2 separate regions of the Homo sapiens genome follow, and region 1 is linked to region 2. Evidence: promoter capture Hi-C in 16 types of primary human blood cells and fetal thymus (Javierre and others, 2016). All regions are on one chromosome and are shown on one strand. Each heading gives the region's core, a stretch centred on a gene start or on the middle of the fragment in contact. The rest is flanking DNA. Distances are from core to core; before and after follow the strand shown. Region 1 holds the start of KRTAP10-7 (keratin associated protein 10-7). Region 2 holds the start of UBE2G2 (ubiquitin conjugating enzyme E2 G2).

Region 1 (5,946 bases), core at 898-3,397, 200 kb before region 2:
AGAAATCCTTTGTCTCAGTGCTCGTTTTTCCTTACGACTCTGAGCCTTATTTCTAACATTATTGATTATACATTGATTATACATAGTTTTTACTATCTCTTCCGTGGTCACTTTAGAGATTATAGCACACATTCTTAGATTATTCAAGTGTAACATATGTCAGCACTTCCGCCGCTTCCAAAACAATGCTGAAACCTTAGAAAACTTTCACTCCATTTATCCTTCTCACCTTTTATTGTTAATGTCATCATGCATTACTTTTCTACTTCTAGTTTAGACCCCACAAGAGATTATAAATATAATAATATTACCCTTTCAGATCCTCCTGGTTCCTTCCTGCATTTTTATCCTTCCGTCATCCTGCCTAAAAAAATCCCCTTTCATAGTTACTGTAGAGTAGGTCTGCTCGTGTTCAGTTTGCTCAGTTGTTATCCAGAATTGTTTTGTTTCATATTTCACCTTTGAACAATGTTCTTCCTGGTCTAGAATTCTAGGTTTGCAGTGATTTTCTTTCAGCTCTTTAAAGATGTCATTCTATTACCTTTAGTTTCTTCAACAGCTCTTTTAGGAGAGCTTTAAAGGAATCATTTTTAAAACATTTTGTTCAGCTTTTCAAGTTGTTCTCAGCAGGAGTATATGTCTGACATAGCTACTTTGTCCCATATGGAAGCAGAGGCCCCCATTTTCTCTCTCTCTCTCTCTCTCTCTCTCTCTCTCTCTCTCCTTCCATCCCATAGGACCAGATCCTGTACCTCTGGAGGGACCAGGCCATGCTCAAATTTATATTATTTTTATAGTTCAAAATATACAGAAAGACAATTCATCCCACCGTGTAACTGAATTTCTAGCCCTCTGAGGCCTTTTGTACTTTTCCTAAATCCCCTAGGAGTTAAGAGGCCTGGACTGGGAAACACAGATAGAGACACAGGACACCCTGAGCCTCTGAGACTTGCCTGGGCATCAAACCCCACCAGAAGGGCCCCTGGAGCCCTCTCCCCTGGGTAGGGGCCACTTCTCAGGGCCGCATGCATGCTGGGCTATGGCTGGTCATCACTGACATCACCAGGCACCAAGCAGCCCACCTCCCTCCCTGGTGGGGTCCACAGTCAGGGTTACTACCCCTTCACTTTCACATTCTCAGCACCTGGTGCAATTTCCAGCATGTGGGAGGACTCACTGCATCATGAATAAATGAATGCTTGAGAAGTAAAAGTATCGGATACAATTGGAAACATTTAGCAGAAACAACCAAAAAGATGTGGTGGCCAATTGGATATTATTTGCAGAAGAAATGGAGACTTAGATCAGATGTCTAGCTGGGGTGACCAAGGACTTAGCTGGCAATCAAGAAAACACACTGCAAGCGAAAGCAGTGCTTGCTGCTTTTCACACGGCAGTGCTGTTGAGAGTGGCTGTGCTTTTTGCGGAGGAGGTGTTCTGGGTTAGACTTACAGGTTTGCAGTGCTTGGGATAAAACCAAATGGAAATGGGGGCCCCAAACAGGGATCTGGGGCCTCCCTAAGTGCCCAGATGGAAGAGGGGGTGCACGGCCCCCCAGGAACTACTGTGAACCTGACGGGAAATGGCTCACACCACTGTCCACCCTTTCCCGTTTGCCACTTGCTCTAAAGCCCTTGGGGGGACTTTATGCACCAGAGAGAGTGTGGGGAGTCACTTCTAGGAATGTTCCACCCTCATGCCATCATTGACAGGGGCTTCTCTAGCCTGGCATTCCAGAAGCCACAGCCACCCAGACAAGCAGAGTCCCCTGGCGATGGCCCACAGGCGCTGGGATTAGGATGGATGGATCTCTCCTGCAGCCAGCACAGGCCCCTGGGACACTCTATTTGCAGACATTACACCCTGTCTACTTCAATATTATGCTCTGGAGCCAAAGGTAGGTGAGGGTGCGTCAACGGAACCAAATATAGACTCAGGACTTTACAAACTGAACGGCATCTCATAGGACTAAACATGAAACTCGCACTAATAAGCGTTCTCTAGGTTTTAAACACAAACAAGGAAGGGGCAGGAGTTGTTGACACTCCAGCTGGGACAACAGACCAGGGAGACATATAAAAGCCAACATCCCTGAGCACCTAACACACGGACTCACTCACTCATTCACTCACTCACCCACTCACTCCCATCTCCTCCAGTTCAATCCCCAGCATGGCTGCGTCCACTATGTCTGTCTGCTCCAGCGACCTGAGCTACGGCAGCCGCGTCTGCCTTCCTGGTTCCTGTGACTCTTGCTCCGACTCCTGGCAGGTGGACGACTGCCCAGAGAGCTGCTGCGAGCCCCCCTGCTGCGCCCCGGCCCCCTGCCTGAGCCTGGTCTGCACCCCAGTGAGCTATGTGTCCAGCCCCTGCTGCCGAGTGACCTGTGAGCCCAGCCCCTGCCAATCAGGCTGCACCAGCTCCTGCACGCCCTCGTGCTGCCAGCAGTCTAGCTGCCAGCTGGCTTGCTGTGCCTCCTCCCCCTGCCAGCAGGCCTGCTGCGTGCCCGTCTGCTGCAAGACTGTCTGCTGCAAGCCTGTGTACTGTGTGCCTGTCTGCAGTGGGGATTCTTCATGCTGCCAGCAGTCTAGCTGCCAGTCAGCTTGCTGCACCTCCTCCCCCTGCCAGCAGGCCTGCTGTGTGCCCATCTGCTGCAAGCCTGTCTGCTCTGGGATTTCCTCTTCGTGCTGCCAGCAGTCTAGCTGTGTGAGCTGTGTGTCCAGTCCCTGCTGCCAGGCGGTCTGTGAGCCCAGCCCCTGCCAATCAGGCTGCATCAGCTCCTGCACGCCCTCGTGCTGCCAGCAGTCTAGCTGCAAGCCGGCTTGCTGCACCTCCTCCCCTTGCCAGCAGGCCTGCTGTGTGCCTGTCTGCTGCAAGCCCGTCTGCTGTGTGCCCACCTGCTCTGATGATTCCGGTTCATGCTGCCAGCCAGCTTGCTGCACCTCCTCCCAAAGCCAGCAGGGCTGCTGCGTGCCCGTCTGCTGTAAGCCTGTGTGCTGTGTGCCCGTCTGCTCTGGGGCTTCCACTTCATGCTGCCAGCAGTCTAGCTGCCAGCCGGCTTGCTGCACCACCTCCTGCTGCAGACCCTCCTCCTCCGTGTCCCTCCTCTGCCGCCCCGTGTGCAGGCCCGCCTGCTGCGTGCCCGTCCCCTCCTGCTGCGCCCCCACCTCCTCCTGCCAGGCCAGCTGCTGCCGCCCAGCCTCCTGTGTGTCTCTCCTTTGCCGCCCCGCATGCTCCCGCCCGGCCTGCTGTGGCCCCACCTCAACCCAGAAGTCCAGCTGCTGAGTGATCTCCTTAAGATCATCCAAAGCCTGAGTGCTCACTGCCACCTGCACCCCTGGATTCTTTACCCTTGACGGCTCTCCACATCCCGCTCCTAAGCCCTGCAGTGGACGTCAGTGGTCAGCTGGCCATCCAGTGTGCGCTTCTCCTCCTAGAAGCAGCTCAGCTGTTTCTCCAAGTCTTGACTTTCCCCCAATTACCCAGCCCTGCTTCCCCAGCAACAGGTGGGCAGTGACCCCAGCAAGGCCAGCGGGTGCTCCCAGGCCATAGCCCGGTGTGGGGAGAAATGAGGGTAGACAGGTACCAACTGGGTTTCTCGTCACTGTCCCAGCTCAGTGGCGAGCCCTGCTCCTCCCCTGCTGTGGGCCTGGGCCTCTTTCTCTGTCTTCCCTGACCACGGGAGCAGGTCAGACCCTTCTAATAAACTCCTTTCCTAAAAAGTACAACTGGAATTCATTCTTGTTGTTCACAACCAAAGACCCCTGCCTGATGCCCCCCACCCGCGGGTGGTCCTGGGCTGCTCCCACGCCACGAGGTCCCTGTCCTTCCCAGGCGTCCTGGCAGCCCTGCACCAGCCTCACCACACGGATGTCCGAGGGGTAGGCAGGACTGAGGGATGGGAGAGGTGAGGGATCCAACAGCAGCGCCTGCCCTGGGTGGGGCTGCTTTGGGGCCTCCCCAGAAACTGGGTTGTGTCCAGCCCCTGGCTCCAGAAAGGAAACCCCATGGCCGTGTGCAGAATGGGTCCACACGGTGGGCGGGGACGGCCATCCTGAGGCCCGCTGGCCGGGCTGGCCCTTGGCTGGCGTCTGGGAACTGGGATTTCCGAGGGGCTCCCCCCGGCCCCGCCTCACTGGGCCTGAGCTGTTTGTACCATGTGGTTTAGGCCGAACACCCACATCCCTGCTGGGAGTCTGGAATTCTGGCGTAGCCCAGGCAGAAGCTGCTCACGTGACCAGTCCCCGGGTACATCACCGGGCAGGGCATCCCCAACATCGCACACGCAGCGTCCCAGCTGCTTGCAGAGGAGTGAGGCGCGTCCTGCGTGACCCCCACCCCAGGAGAGGCCTCCAAAGCTGAGCCTGGTGCCCCTGGACTCGGCCCCAGGAACCTTTCCCTTGGTTGATTTTGCTCAGTGTCCTCCCTGTGGGAAATCACAGCTGTGAATACCACAACCTGTGTGGCCTGTGTCCTCCTGGAGAATCGCCGTCTTGGGGACCCTGACACAGACCCCAAGCTGCCCTTCCCAAGCAATGACAATGCTGTCCTAGGACAGTGCTGGGTGCATTTCTGGTAGTGCTTCCTTTGACTCCTGCTCCAGAGGGGGTGGAGACAGAGAAGGAGGCTGGGTGAGGCCAGGCCATCGTAGGTTTCATGAGGAGCAGAGCCGACCTGCGCCTGCAACGAGCTGTCCCTCCCCTGTGGTGGCCACAGAGGCTGTGGCCTGAAACTCTGGCGTGGGGCTGGAGCACCAGCTGGCAAGGAATAAGCCCCCACATGTCCCACCTGGCACTCCTCTGCCCCTACCCCGGCCCCTGTGCAGAAGAAATGAGCCAGGCTTCTCTCTGGCACCAGGGCTACACCCTAAGTCAGCATCCCAGGCTTTGCGTCACTGGCTCCCCTCTGGTTCTCCAGGAGGCACCAAGGGGACCCTGTGGTGAGTCCCCCAACTACAGGCACCTGAATCCCACAGACGGCAAGATGGAGGGGCCTTGCTCAGAGAAGCACGTCCTCCTCTGCGGATCCCAGACTCGGCTCCTCCCCTAGGCATGGCCCCAGCAAGCATCCAGGCATGTGAGCCTCTGGGGAAACACGCCCCCCACGCCCCGGGTGTGAACTTCAGGGGAGGTGTGCTGTGGGGCAGAAACATCAAGTTCCCTTCCAAGGGCAACAGGTGGAACTTCAGAACCTCCTGCAAGAGGAAGGGCGTGCCAGGGTGGCTGAGCAGAGAGAAGCAGCCTCCTCCAAGGGGCCATTCTCAGCCGCACCACAGAAGCTGACGGTGGCTGAAACTGCCCTTTGTCACCTGGACATTCACCATTTGCCCTGGTCAACAATGCCTACCGCCATCCCTGGTGAAAGAACCAATATCTCACAAAAAATGCAAAAGGCACAAATCATTAGAGAAAATACTGACAATCTTGAATGCAGCAAAATGCACACAAAAGCATAAGCACACAATCAAAGTTTCCACCAATCCCATCCCAGAGAAGCCACCTGTGGGGCATCACGGGGAGACTGCGGGCTCACTGTCTCCCTCCTGGGCACGTGGGCTGGCAGGTTCCAGCCACCTGCAGTTAGTTAGGGCCACATGATGAGTTTCTATTGGTTAAACGTGCATGGAGAGATGTCTGCCACTTCCACGCCACAGGTTGTGGGAGCCCTGCTGCCTCTCTTCCTTGCCGGGCTATCTTGGAGGCTCACGTGCCAGAGAGTGGGTCCACAAGGTAGGGGCGCAGCATGCTTGGATGGCAATGTGAGGAGTGGGGAAGGCCTTGTGGGCTTAAGCCATTGACATGTTGACTTCTGTTGGTTTCTGAACCAGCATTGATGACCTTCACCCACAGTATGTAACAAAAGATTCAAATTCAGAATTTATAAAGAAAACATAAAAAGAAACGAATAAAAGAGATGGAAATACGCAATTATAGGATAAGATGTCCA
Region 2 (6,566 bases), core at 3,098-5,597:
TTGGGAGGCCGAGGCTGGCGGATCACGAGGTCAGGAGATCGAGACCATCCTGGCTAACACGGTGAAACCCCGTCTCTACTAACAATACAAAAATTAGCCGGGCATGGTGGCGCGCGCCTGTAGTCCCAGCTACACGGGAGGCTGAGGCAGGAGAATGGCATGAACCCGGGAGGCGGAGCCTGCAGTGAGTCAAGATTGCGCCACTGCACTCCAGCCTGGGCGACAGAGCAAAACTCCGTCTCAAAAAAAAAAAAAAAAAAAAAAAAAAAGAGAAAATACCTGCTCACAGTCTAGCCTAACCCTAGAAATAGGGCTAAAATAAAACTAAAACAGAGACACAAACACAAACCAGGATACCAAGAAATGGTAGGTGTTCACACATCTGACCCACCAGCCAGGTTTCCCATGAGGACACAGAAGTAATAGTCCCCCACATCCAACCCTCTGTTCGAGTATGAACATTGTCAGAATCAAAATGGAGTCACTTTCGCCAAACCCTGACAACATAGAGGGAGGTCAAGATGAAGACAGAAAAATCAGCCAGGTGTAGGGGCACATGCCTGTAGTCTCAGCTACTCAGGTGGATTAAGTGAAAGGATAGCTTGAGCCCAGGTCAAGGCTTGCAATGAGCTGTGGTTGTGCCACTGCACTCCAACCTGGGTGACAGAGCAAGACCCTGTCTCAAAAAATAAATAAATAAATAATTATTATTTGCCAAAATATGCTTAATTTTTATTGCTAAAAAATGCTAACAATCATATGAGCCTTCAGCAGGTCATAATCTTTTTGCCGGTGCAGTCTTGCCCGGATATTGATGACTGCTGACTGATCAGGGTGGTAGTTGCTGAAGGCAGGAGTGGCTGTGGTAGTTTCTGAAAATAAGACAACAATTAAGTTTGCCACAGGGACTGACTCTTACTTTCACAAAAGATTGCTCTGTAGTCTGTGATGTTGTTTGACAGCACTTTACCCACAGTGGAACTTCAGTCAAAACTGGAGTCAATACCCTCAAACCCTGCGGCTGCTTTATCAACTAAATTTATGGAATAGTCTCAATCTTTTGTCATTTCAACAATGTTCACAGCATTTTCACCAGGAGTAGATTCCATCTCAAGAATCACTTCTTTGCTCATCTGTAAGACTCAACTCCCCATCTGTTCAAGTTTGATCATGAGATTGTAGCAACTGAGTGACATCTTCAGGCTCCACCTCTAATTCCAGTTCCCTTGCCATTTCTACCACACCTGCAGTTGCTTCCTCCCCTTAAAGTCATCCATGAGCATTGAAATCAACTTTTTCAAACGCCTGTTGTTGATATGGTGACCTCCCATGAATCACAGATGTTCTTAATGCCATCTAGAATGATAAATCCTTTCCAGAAGACTTTTGATTTTCTTTGCCCAGATCCATCAAAGAAATCACTTTTCATGGCAGCTATGGCCTTATGAAATGTATTTCTTAAATAAGTCAAAAGTGCTCCCGGATCCATGGGCTGCAGAATTGGTGTTGTGTTAGCAGGCACAAAAACATTTATCTCCTTATACCTCTCCATCAGAGCTCTTGAGTGACCAGGTGCACTGTCAGGAATAGTATTTTGAAGATAATCTTTTTTTCTGAGCAGTAGGTCTCAACAGTGGGCTTATATTCAGTAAACCATGCTGTACACAGATGTGCTGTCATCCAGGTTGTTTTTCCATCTCTAGAGCTCAGAGTAGATTTAGCATAATTTTTAAGGGCCCTAAGATTTTCTGAATGATAAATGAGAACTGGCTTCAACTCAGTCAACTTAAAGTGACCGACATTAGCCCCTAACAAGAGTCGCCCTGTCCTTTGAAGCCAGTCATTGACTTCTCTCTAGCTGTTTACGTTGTATATGGCATCATCTCCTCCCAATACCGTATAAGGCTATTTTACGTACCTTGTAAATCTATTGCTTAATTTAGGAGCCACTTTCATCTTGATCTTAGCTAGATCTTCTGGAGACCTTGCTGCTTCACCTTGTGCTTTTCTGTTATGGAGACAGGTTATTTACTTCAATCTCATGAACCAACCTCTGTTAGCTCCCAATTTTTCTTCTGCAGCTTCCTCACTGCTCTCAGCCTTCATAAAACTGAAGAGTTAGGACCTTGCTCTGGATTAGGCTTTGGCTTAAAGGAATGTTATGGCTGGTTTGATCTTCTATCCAAACCACTAAAACTTTCTCCATATCAGCAGTAAGGCTTTTTCACTTTATCATTCATTGTGTTCAACAGAGCAGCACTTCTAATTTCCTTTAAGAACTTTTCCTTTGCATTCACAACTTGGCTAACAAGAGACCCAGCTTTCAGCCTATCTTGACTTTCAACATTCCTTCCTCACTAAACTTAATCATTTCTAGCTTTTGATTTGAAGTGGGTAGAGTGCAACTCTTCACTTCAACACTTGAGCCCACTGTACAGTTACTATTGGCCTAATTTCAATGTTGTTTTGTCTCAGGGAAGAGAGAGGCCGGGAGAGAGATGGGGAAACAGCCAGTCAGTGAAGCACACACAACATTTATTAGGACTACCATCTTTTATGGGCATAGTTTGTGATGCCCCAAAATAATTACAATAGTAACATCAAAGATTACTGATCATAGATCACAGTAATAGATTAAAATGTAAGAGAGAGACACGAAGCGAGCAAAAATGGTGCCAACAGACTTGCTTCCATGCAGGGTTGCTTGTAAAAAACTTGTAAACTTGTAAAAAATGCAAGATCTGCGAAGTGAAGCTCAATAAAGCAAAGCGCGCGGGAAACTGAGGTGTGCCTTTATGTTCTGCTTTAGCAGACACTAGGTGGCGAGCGTTATTTGAACGTTTACAGGAGGCCCTGTGTATCTGCGGCTGCATATCCATGGATTCGACCAACCAGGAATACAAAATATTTGAAAAAAATAACAATAAAAAATGACGATTTAAAAATACAAGTAAAAAAAATCAGTGTAACTATTTGTGCAGCACTTACATTGCATTAGGTACTATAAGTAACCTTGAGATGATTTAAAAGTTATGAGAGGCTATGCATACATTAAATGCAAATACCACGCCACCTTATAGTAGGGACTTGAGCATCCGAGGATTCTGGTATCTGCAGCGGGGCCTGGAACCAATCCCCTCCAGATACCAAGGGAAGAATGACCATACGTGAGTGAGCCTGTATTTGCAACGTTTTGGTCTGCTTAAGCCAAACATCAACTCTTACTGGGCGGTGTCACCAATAGTTTTACGAAATCAAGCTACATGTATATTCACCACTTATTTTTTTTCTCACATTCATTCTTTTAGCTTAACTTTCTTCCAAAATTATCCTCAATCTAATTACAAAAGCAGCAGCTAACTTTATTAAGGGTTACACATCAGGTATTTTGCTAAGCACTTCACCTGCAGTATCAAGTTTAACCTTTTAAGACAAGGAAACTGCAGAGACAGAGAGAGGAACAAGGTCAAAGAGCTAACAAGCAGAGAGGCCGGGTCTGAACTCAGGCCCTGCTCTTAGCCGGCTACTATCTCGTCTCCATCGGCGACTCAGGCTCCTGGCGCTTTCAACACAATGGTATTCCAAGACTTCTCGCAGCAGTTCTTCCAAGCGGGCATTCGGTGTAAAACGATGGAATGCCGAGTGTTCCTAGGTTCTCATTTCTCCCTTCGCTCTCCTCAGACATTAGAAATATCTAATTTACCGGGTAGGAAAGCACTCAAGAGGTTTCCTCAACACTACCTAGGAGGAGTGACAGGTGGCACTGTTCAAAAACCCTTTTCCTTCATTAGAGGGAAAGCCAAAATCTGACCTTTCAAAGCTCCACCAACGAGCCTTTCCCCTTTTAACGCATACACTTTTCCCTCCTAATTCCGCAGCAGCAAGTCAGGCCTTCTTCCTCAAGCTCTCACTGCACGTTCTCAAGGCTGCCAAGAAAAGAAAAAATAGAAGAGAAAAAAACAAGCCCGCAAAGACTCAACTGTGTGTGCTCTCAACTAACACGGCGCCGGCGCTGCCTTTACTGATGCTGGGAAGGCTTCTCTTCACGACTTCACGCGTGAGAGTGGGCAGCGGGCGCAGGGCGCGGCACTCCGCGGGACCCACAGGGGGGCTCACGGTGGAGGCCCCGGGCCCGGCTCCCCCGCCAGGCTCCCTGCCCCAGCCCCGCCGGACGACGCGGGCCCGGGAGCAGGAACGCGGGACGCTGCTGACGGCCCGGGTCCCCAGACTCACGTTTGTACTCGGCCATCAGCCTCTTGAGCGCGGTCCCCGCCATGGCCCCGCAACAGCTGCGCCGAGCGACCTCGCCTCAGCCGCGCGCGTGCCTCCTGCCCCGACACCGGGGACTGCTTCCGGGCCACCGTCGCGGGCCCAGGAACTCTTCCGGGGCGTGGCGCGTGCGCGATCGCCGAGGCGCGCTGTCCGGGTGGTGGGAGCTCAACCCGCGACCGCGGCTACGATTCTCTTGGCTCCTGCCCTCGCCTTAGTCGCTCTGCGGGGTTGGTTCGGTCCCGGCACTTCCAGAGGCCTCAGGGTCCTGGTCTTGTAGAGACTTCCTGAACGGTGGCGCCTGTTCCAGTGTGTGTGCGCTAACTGCCTGTTCTGTGCCAGCCGCGCGTGGCCGAAGGGCGGGAGGACGGGGGTTGTGGAGGGGAGGATGGAGGTTGGGGAGACAGGGCGGGGACGAGATAAGAGGTCGGGGGGTGGGGAGGATGGTCGCGGGGCGGTCTGGGGCTGGAGACAAGGGGCCTGAGGTGCGGGTACGCACTGAACATTCCAACCGTCCCCAGCCGGCCGGGTTTCAGGTTTGAAAAGGTGGGAAGGTTAGCTGTCCTGGCGCTTTTCCTCCACGTGTTGTGCGGCTCCGCTGGAGTTCGGGTCCAGCACCTTCTACTCCGAGGGAGAGAGCCGCGGGGAGAGCCCTGTTCGGGCCCGCGGCTCGAACTGACCGCCGGCTCTGCCGAGCAGCCTCGACCCCAGGGCACCCCCGGGAGAGAGGGCGCGGCTCAGGTCCCTGCCCGAACCCCTGGGGTGCTGAGAGACTCCCCAGCGCCCCGCGTGGGCTCCCGGCCTCTCCACAGTTGAGGATCCTGTAAGGGGCGAGCCCTTTTTCCCATAATGGCTGTAGTGAGTGGGTGTGCTTTCCCGATTGACCCGCTGTGAGGTGAGCGATTTTAACCCACATCCTTACTGACTTCACAGCACAGTAGGTGCTTCGTGGCTGTCCGGTGCAAGGATGTATATACACACACACCTTTGCAAAAAAAGTTTGCATCTCTTGCCTGGCTGTTTGTTGCAATAATCTATCATTTGTCTTTTCCTTTCCAGCATTGCAGATGATCCCTTGAAAAGAAGTCTGATCACATTCACACTCTGCTCCGCCCATTTCACTCAGTAAAGCTGAAGTCCTGCAGTGCTTTGCTCTGCCTCCGGTCACCCCGCCATACTCCCAGACCCTCCCTCCCTCTCACTCCACTCCAGCTGCCCTGGCCTGGTTCAGAGTCCCTGACTCTTCCCTCCCCGGAAACACTTTCTGGCGGCTCTTGTCCCCGACTCTTCCCACCTGCTCTTTCAGTCTTTGCTCAAATGTTGCCTCTTCAGTGTGGCCTAGGCCGTCACCACCCGGCCTTCACCGCATACCTTTTTCTCTGCAACACCTACTCAACACACCGTACTATAGAACTTACTGGCATGCTATAAATGTATTACCCTTATCTGTTGCCTCTAACCAAAAGCGTGTTCCATGAGAGCCATGGGTCCCTGCCTACTTCTGTCTTGTTTCTGGGGCAGCCTCTGTACCTGGACATCGTATACTCTTAACACGGATTTGTCAAATCAAATGAAATTTAACAATACAAACTTCACAAGTATGCATAGTGTAGGAAAATTCCCCAAAATTCAAAATTTCAGTCTACCTCCATCTTTTCAAATGACCACAGTGCTTTATAAAATGACATGGTCCTTTGAGACTGTTTCAGAGAGTAATTTGTGCAAATGCAATGTGCAAAAAGTCACAGTGGAGGTGTTTCCTCCCCCATTCAAGAGCTGCTCTCTCTCTAATCAGACAGCACCCCACACCCCAAGGCAGTCTGTCCAGTGCTCCTAAAGGAGAGCAGCTCCCCTTTTCCAGTTATGGGAGATGTGGGCAATAAAGCATTACTGTCAATGCCGTGATGTTCACTGCAACATATGCTTGATGTTTTCATAATTTTATCCATCTTTTTCAGACATCTTACTGCAGAACACTGTATGTTTTCCAATTATTATTTTTCAGAAATGTGGTTTACAGCTTCTATCAGGATTAGCTTCAGCTTCAAGTGACAAAAGTCACTTGAAATATGAGTTGCTGAAACAAGATGGCAGTCTCTCCCCTCAACAGGACTGTTACAACACCTTATCTTCAGAGAACCAGGCTCTCTGCAACATTTCAGGGACGTCGTTCAGTACCTTATGTGGAATTCAAGCTTAGCTGGGCATCCTATGTTTTAACTGGCTAACTCGTGGAACTCTCAACTTGGATCAAGTGGTAGTGGAGTCCCAGGGACTCTGAGCAGCCAGTGTGTGAT

What was found. The method cuts DNA at HindIII sites, captures the fragments that hold promoters and counts their contacts. A CHiCAGO score of 5 or more calls a contact.
Region 1: a contact is called between the fragment with the promoter of KRTAP10-7 here and the fragment with the promoter of UBE2G2 in region 2, in 2 of 17 cell types (total CD4 T cells and neutrophils). The highest score is 5.9, in total CD4 T cells.

Annotation. Positions count from the first base shown.
Region 1 is chr21:44,598,450-44,604,395 of GRCh38, forward strand. KRTAP10-7 (keratin associated protein 10-7) reads left to right here and starts at 2,148. Exons shown (of 1, transcript NM_198689.3): 1 at 2,148-3,725. The coding sequence starts at 2,173. The coding sequence ends at 3,285. The region is part of intron 1 of TSPEAR (thrombospondin type laminin G domain and EAR repeats); the gene reads right to left. RefSeq lists enhancers at 515-1,271, 2,032-2,781, 2,782-3,541, 3,640-4,496, 4,497-5,351. The HindIII fragment of the contact is 9,535 bases long and covers 1-5,946 here.
Region 2 is chr21:44,797,473-44,804,038 of GRCh38, forward strand. It overlaps UBE2G2 (ubiquitin conjugating enzyme E2 G2), which reads right to left and starts at 4,348. Exons shown (of 6, transcript NM_003343.6): 1 at 4,234-4,348. The coding sequence starts at 4,276. It overlaps LINC01424 (long intergenic non-protein coding RNA 1424), which reads left to right and starts at 4,769. Exons shown (of 2, transcript NR_109928.1): 1 at 4,769-5,164; 2 at 6,275-6,566. RefSeq lists an enhancer at 3,574-4,529 and silencers at 4,077-4,136, 4,197-4,416, 4,917-4,966. The HindIII fragment of the contact is 6,659 bases long and covers 1-6,462 here.